Linked DNA regions of Homo sapiens: region 2 is linked to region 1. Evidence: promoter capture Hi-C in human tissues and cell types (Jung and others, 2019). All regions are on one chromosome and are shown on one strand. The core of a region is centred on a gene start or on the middle of the fragment in contact, and the rest is flanking DNA. Distances in the headings are between cores, read along the strand shown.

The links. Contacts are between HindIII fragments. The study calls those that stand out against the background at their distance.
Region 2: a fragment that was not itself captured here is called in contact with the fragment with the promoter of GOT1L1 in region 1 in 3 of the 25 tissues and cell types used here (mesendoderm cells, spleen and thymus).

Annotation. Positions count from the first base shown.
Region 1 is chr8:37,938,272-37,941,608 of GRCh38, reverse strand. It overlaps GOT1L1 (glutamic-oxaloacetic transaminase 1 like 1), which reads left to right and starts at 1,485. Exons shown (of 9, transcript NM_152413.3): 1 at 1,485-1,694; 2 at 2,728-2,909. The coding sequence starts at 1,580. RefSeq lists an enhancer at 1,463-1,979. The HindIII fragment of the contact is 11,209 bases long and covers 1-3,337 here.
Region 2 is chr8:37,863,520-37,866,856 of GRCh38, reverse strand. The region is part of intron 5 of RAB11FIP1 (RAB11 family interacting protein 1); the gene reads left to right. Among named protein-coding and RNA genes, the nearest start is that of BRF2, 15 kb to the right of the region's middle. The HindIII fragment of the contact is 5,114 bases long and covers 1-3,337 here.

The sequences.
Region 1 (3,337 bases), core at 236-2,735:
GTGAAGGCCTTCTGGGTGAGACATCAACAGTGTTTGCAACAATCATTTAAAGAGTTATTTAACATCAGGCTGGGTGTGGTGGCTCATGCCTGTAATCCTAACACTTTGGGAGGCTGAGGTAGGCAGATCACTTGAGGTCAGGAGTTTGAGACCAGTCTGGCCAACGTGGTGAAACCCTGTCTCTACTAAAAATACAAAAAAAAGCCGGGCGCAGTGACTCACGCCTGTAATCCCAGCACTTTGGGAGGCCCAGGTGGGCAGATCACCTGAGGTCTGGAGTTTGAGACCAGCCTGATCAACATGGAGAAATCCCCCTCTCTACTAAAAATACAAAATTAGTTGGGTGTGGTGGCGCATGCCTGTAATCCCAGCTACTCGGGAGGCTGAGGCAGGAGAATCTCTTGAACCTGGGAAGCAGAGGTTGCAGTGAGCCGAGATCACACCACTGCACTCCAATGTGGGCAGCAAGAGCGAGACTCTGTCTCAAAAAAAAAAAAAAAAAAAAAGAGAGAGTCATTAAACATCAAAAGGAAAAGAAAGCAAGCAATATGCAGACTGACTCTATAGAGGCTGGCTCTTTTCTCCCCTTGGCCTCTGCTGTCTATACTTACTAGTTGGCTGTCATTGAAACTTAACAAATGGCCAGGTGTGGTGGCTCATGCCTGTAATCCCAGCAGTTTGGGAGGCCAAGGCAGGCAGATCACCTGAGGCAAGGAGTTCGAGACTATCGACAAAGTGAGACTCCATCTCAAAAAAAAAAAAAACCAAAAAAAGAAAGAAAAAGAAACTTAACAAACATATGTAGAAGTCTTGGCTCTAGATAACTGAGAGAAATAGGACTGGCTTAGTGAGTTGCCAATTATATTCTAATAATAGGATTCTTTATTAAAACAACTGTGGAAGAAAACAGTGTTTGCTTTTTATTCCTTTTGAAATCTGGGGCACTTTGCAAAATGGAAATCAATGCCTCGACTTGCATTGGTGTGTGATCTGGGGTTTTTGCTTCTGCAGGAGAAGCCCTATCTGGCTTATTGGCTGCCTGCCTTGCCCTATGTCTTTCTTTCTTTTTTTTTTTTTTAATTTGTATAAATGTGTGAAGTACAAGTGTAATTTTGTTAGATGCATACATCGCATAGTGGTGAAGTCAGGGCTTTTAGGGTATCCATAACCCCAACAATGTACATTGTATCTGTTAAGTAATCTCCCATTATCCTTGCCCTGTCATCTAAGGAGTGGGCTTGTTACTTTGGACTGAGCCACCTGGGGCTAGAGAAGAGAAGGCATTGAGTGAGGGAAACGGGCTTGGGAATTCCGGAGATTGTTATCCTGCCCTGCCCGCTGTCTGAGGGGATTCTCCTCAAGTACCCTGGAATGTTCCTGTGGCCCCTGTGGATCGCCACCACAAAGATCATGAGGTTCTGTTGCCCTGGCAACCCGTTGTCCAGCGCCTCTGCACTGGGGCTGCCAAGGTTCCAGGAAGAGGCAGGACTGCCCGGCCCAGCCTTGGAGGAAGACTTCTGGGCAGAAGCGGAACACAGGAGCAGAGACACATAGTCTTGGCTCCAGTTTCGTTTCAGTTATGCCCACCCTTTCAGTGTTCATGGATGTGCCCCTCGCCCACAAGCTAGAGGGCAGCTTGTTAAAGACCTACAAACAAGATGATTACCCGAACAAGATATTCTTAGCCTATAGAGGTAGATGCCTAGCAGTTCTGAAGTATAAGACTTAAGTGATGGTAACTGCCTCTAGGAGGACAGTGTTCCCTGCTGCAGGGGGAGGGGTGCAGCCCAAGCTTCTGTGGGTGGAGAGATCTTTTCTTGTTAACAGAATTACCCAGTGGGGAAAAGTGCAGATAAGGTCCCAGGTCATTCCATGCTCTCTGCCCTTCTCTGGGGGCTTCTAGGGATTTGGTGAGAGCTATGTCCTCTTCCACAACTCTATGCTTGGGGGCCTGCATGGCCATCCCACACTTCTTCAGATTCTTACCTCCTCTCTCTCTCTTTCTCTTTCTCTTCCTGTTCTTGAACCAAGAATGGTTCTCCAGATTGAGCTTTCTGCTATGCAACTGGGGCTCACCACTGTGAAAGTCAGGGTTACCTTTATTTAGCTTCATCTACCTATAACTCTCATTTTGCATATATATATATATATATATATATATATATATATATATATATTTTTTTTTTTTTTTTCTTGAGACAGGGCCTCACTCTGTTGCCCAGGCTGAAGTGCAGTGGCAAGATCTCAGCTCACTGCCACCTTTGCCTCCTGGGCTCAAACCATCCTCTTGCCTCAGCCTCCTGAGTAGCTGGGACTACAGGCGCTGGTCACCATGTCTGGCTGTTTTGTATTTTTTTGTAGAGACAGGGTTTCATCATGTTGCCCAGGCTGATCTTGAACTCCTGAACTCAAGTGATCCACCCACCTTAGCCTCCCGAAGTGCTGGGATTACAGGCCTGAGCCACCAATCCTGGGCTTGTATAATTTTTAACCTTTAAAATGGCATAGGTTTCAGTTGTCTTTTTTAAAAAGACAAAAATAATACACATTCACTAACAGCATATTCTTTTCATCAAGGAGAAAAGAAAAGGGAAAGTTGTATTTTCACAGGCACCTTCCCACAGCCCCATGGAGTCCAGGAGAGATTTGTTTGCAGGCTGTCTGCAGAGCTCAGCCCTGGGGGCCCAAACCAGGCATCTGGAGCTCCCTCTGTGGTTTTCCTCACAGTCTGCATGACAAATGAAGGCCATCCCTGGGTTTCTCTCGTGGTGCAGAAGACTCGACTACAGATTTCACAGGATCCCTCCCTGAATTATGAGTACTTGCCCACCATGGGCCTGAAATCATTCATCCAGGCCTCTCTAGCACTCCTCTTTGGAAAGCACAGCCAAGCCATTGTGGAGAACAGGGTGAGAAGGTGGGCCCTCCCCTGGCTCATTTAGACACAGAGAGTGGCGATCTGGGTCTGCACAACCTTAAACCCGAAGGGGACCTCGGAGGGCCCCCTGGTATTGATAAAAGAGATACCTGAGGCTCAGAGAGTCCACAAGTCCTTAGCCATCGAGTCAGGATCGGAATCTCAGTCCAGTGGTATTCCCACCTGCTCACACTGCTGATTTGAAAGCTCTTTCAAGACAGGAATGATCTGAATTGGAGGTGGTGTTAGTATTCCCATTACTGTTTTATTTTTTAACCTATTATATATATTTTTTGAGACAGAGTCTCACTCTGTCACCCAGGCTAGAGTGCAGTGGTGCCATCTCAGCTCACTGCAACCTCCACCTCCCAGGTTCAAGCAATTCTGGTGCTGCATCCTCCTGAGTAGCTGGAATCACAG
Region 2 (3,337 bases), core at 554-3,053, 75 kb after region 1:
AGGCTCTGCTATTGGCCTGCCACGTGATAGATGCTTTGTGTTAAGGCACAAGACAGTATTTATAAAGATACCTACTCTTTGGAATGTTGCAAAGTAAGAGAGGTTTAAGGGAAAGAAATTGCATAGCTAAAGTTATGAAATGCTAGCTGGATCATTACTACAGTGTTTTTTTTTTTTCTTTTCTTGGTTGTTGTTTTAGCGCCTCCATCCTTTATAGATGATTTATAACTGGGAGAGTATTATTTACCCAGGTGGCTTTAACATTTCCGTTTTAAAATAGTAAAGCCAACTAGATCCAAAAATCATCTGTGATATGGAAAAAGTTGGATGTACATTTGAGTGTATGTCATTATCACAACTATGTAAAAGGAAAAGTCCAGGGTAAGAATCCTGGTGAGAAATACATGACAATGGGCACCATTCTTTCTTGCATTTGTGGGTATTTTCTCTGTGCTTCTTCTTCTCCAAGGCCATTACTCACTTTTTATGATGCTGGCTTATTTATAATTTTTTTTTTTTTTTGAGATGGGGTCTCGCACTGTTGCCCATGCTGGAGTGCAGTGGCACGATCTTGGCTCACTGCAACCTCCGCCTCCCGAGTTCAAGCGATTCTCCTGCCTCAGCCTCCCGAGTAGCTGGGACTACAGGTGCCCGCCACCATGCCTGGATAATTTTTTGTATTTTTAGTAGAGAAGAGGTTTCACCATGTTGGCCAGGTTGGTCTCAAACTCCTGACCTCATGATCCGCCCACTTCAGCCTCCCAAAGTGCTGGGATTACAGATGTGAGCCACCATGCCTGGCCCTGTTTTATAATTTTTAAATATTGCAAAACTAGGCTCTTCTAATGATTTTCAAGTCCTTTATATCCTTTTTCCCTTTCAATTACAGAATCCAAATTAAATAGCTGTTTGACGGTTCGTATGAAGTACCTTAAGTGTGTACACATTTTCAATTCTAGGCATTTATCTTAAGGAAGTACTTAGAGATATGGCCAAAGATTTATGTTCGTGCATTTTGATAAAAATGTTATATATAATTGTACAAATTGAAAACAACATAAATATCCAGCAATAGAGGAATAGTTAAAATATAATGAGATTTTAAGCATCCATTAGAAAAGCAAGTTTTGCTAAAATGTTATGATGGAAAAAATGCTTATTAAATAGTAAAAAGCTGTAAAACTATTATTTTGTATGAGGCTGACATTATAAAACATATCATCAAGAACCCCAGGAAGGCCGGGCTCAGTGGCTCATGCCTGTAATCCCAGCACTTTGGGAGGCTGAGGCAGGTGGATCACTTGAGGTCAGGAGTTCAAGACCAGCCTGGCCAACATGGTGGAACCCTGTCTCTACTAAAAATACAAAAATTAGCTGGATGTGGTGGCAGGTGCCTGTAATCCCAGCTACTCGGGAGGCTGAGGCAGGAGAAGCACTTGAACCTGGGAGGCAGAGGTTGCAGTGAGCCGAGATCGTGTCACTGCACTCCAGCCTGGGTGTCACAGTGAGAATCTGTCTCAAAAAAAGAAAAAAAAAAAAAAGAATCCCAGGAAAAATAAAGAGACCCAAATGTTAGGTGTTGGAATTAATTATATGACACCCTACAGGTGTCAGCCTCTGCATCCCTCTCTCTTTCAAACTCCATGCAGAGTATCTTATGTATTGAGACTTTTAAAAAATAAATAAATAAGATCCTTATATGACAGAGATATAATCTAAAATCCCTTGAGGACGTATTCTTTGCCATTATTTACAAAGGTGACTCTTTTTTCTTGATATAAAATGTAAGGCTGGGTGTGGTGGCTCATGCCTGTAGTCGCAGCATTTTGGGAGGCCAAGGTGGGAGGATCACTTGAGCTTGGGTTTGAGACCAGTCCAGGCAACATAGAGAGATCCCGTCTCTATGGGGAAAAAAAAAAAAAAAAGGCATTAAGTACATTCACATTGTTGTGTAATCAATCGCTAGGGCTCTTTTCCAGACTTGCGACTTTTCAATGAAATATTGTTTTGGAAGTCACATCTACAGTGACTGAGGTCCAGAGGAGGTGCATCGTGAATGCATGCCTTCAAAGTTTTAAAAAACAAAGATTAGGGGAGAAGCAGGTTTTGGAAAAGCAGTCCAGTGTCTCACCTCTAAATGTGCAGCCTGTGTGGGGTTGAACCCGCTCTGTCTATGGAAACGTTGGTGTTGTGTGTCTAAGTTAGTACCGCCATCATCTTGCTTTTGTTCCTAGCCAGGATGGGAGGGCTGGGATCCCTCCTTTGACTTCTGGCTCGTGTCCAGGCAGTTTGCGTCACTGACTGAACTGGGGCTCCTATCATGTCACTGAGGAACTAGTGTTGATTCTTGGAGAAGGTAGTCTCTTGGCCTTCCTGGTAGGCAGTGAAACCGTTAGACCCTCAGGGCAGTAAAGCTATTCCTGCCTCAGAGCTCTGCCAGCAAAATCATCTTGATTCTTTAAACATGTAAATCTCAGGCTACAGATTTCAGGAAAAGTCACTTTTTTTTCCTTACTGGGGACTTACACAGCATGTGACTTTTCATTTAAGCTTTACCTTACATCTCCTCCTGGTTCAAGCTGCTTGGGCTTGCAGGGGCCCCAGATCATAAATGCTGATAAAGCACAGTGACTCCGCAGGGTGTGTGCTCTCCTCGGGAGTGGAACACTCAGCTCTGGGACAGGCCGCTGTGTACCCAAGGGCGTGCCTAGACGGCCACGGGTGAGGACGGGGCATGGTGGCACCTGGCTCTGACTCCGCATATTTCTCGAGTATGAAGTGATGTGAAGTGGGGTCCCTGGGTGTCCTCTGCATCCACCTGCTCATTGAGTCCTTCTGAGCGCAGCTTTGGCAGGAGCAGACAGTCTGGGCTGGACCTCGACCTGCTGCCCTGGAAAGAAAGCCCTTGCTCCCTGCACTTGCTGTCACAGCTGTGTCTTCCTGGGCCCCCTCTGGCTTGGGAGTCGTCACCAGCTCTGCACTGGTGTTTGGTTGTGTGAGCTCCTAGTGTTCCCAAAGGAGTGAGCACTCATTTGGAGAACTGAGTCCTCCCATGATGGCACTGCTTAAAATCCAAACCCAGAGTCAAGTCCAGAGGTCCTCGACCTGTGAGGCAAGTATGGTTTTTACATTTTTAAAAGTTCATACAACAAAATAAAACAAAACAAACAGACCAAAAAACCAAGGAAGAACATGTTAACAAAGGCTGTCTGTGGCCCGCAAAGGCTCAAATATGTGCTATCTGGCCCTTTCCAGAAGACTTCATCAGTCAACAACCTGTTTTCACTGTAAATTGAAAACGGATTCCCTGGCTGGGCACGGTGGCTCATGCCTGTAA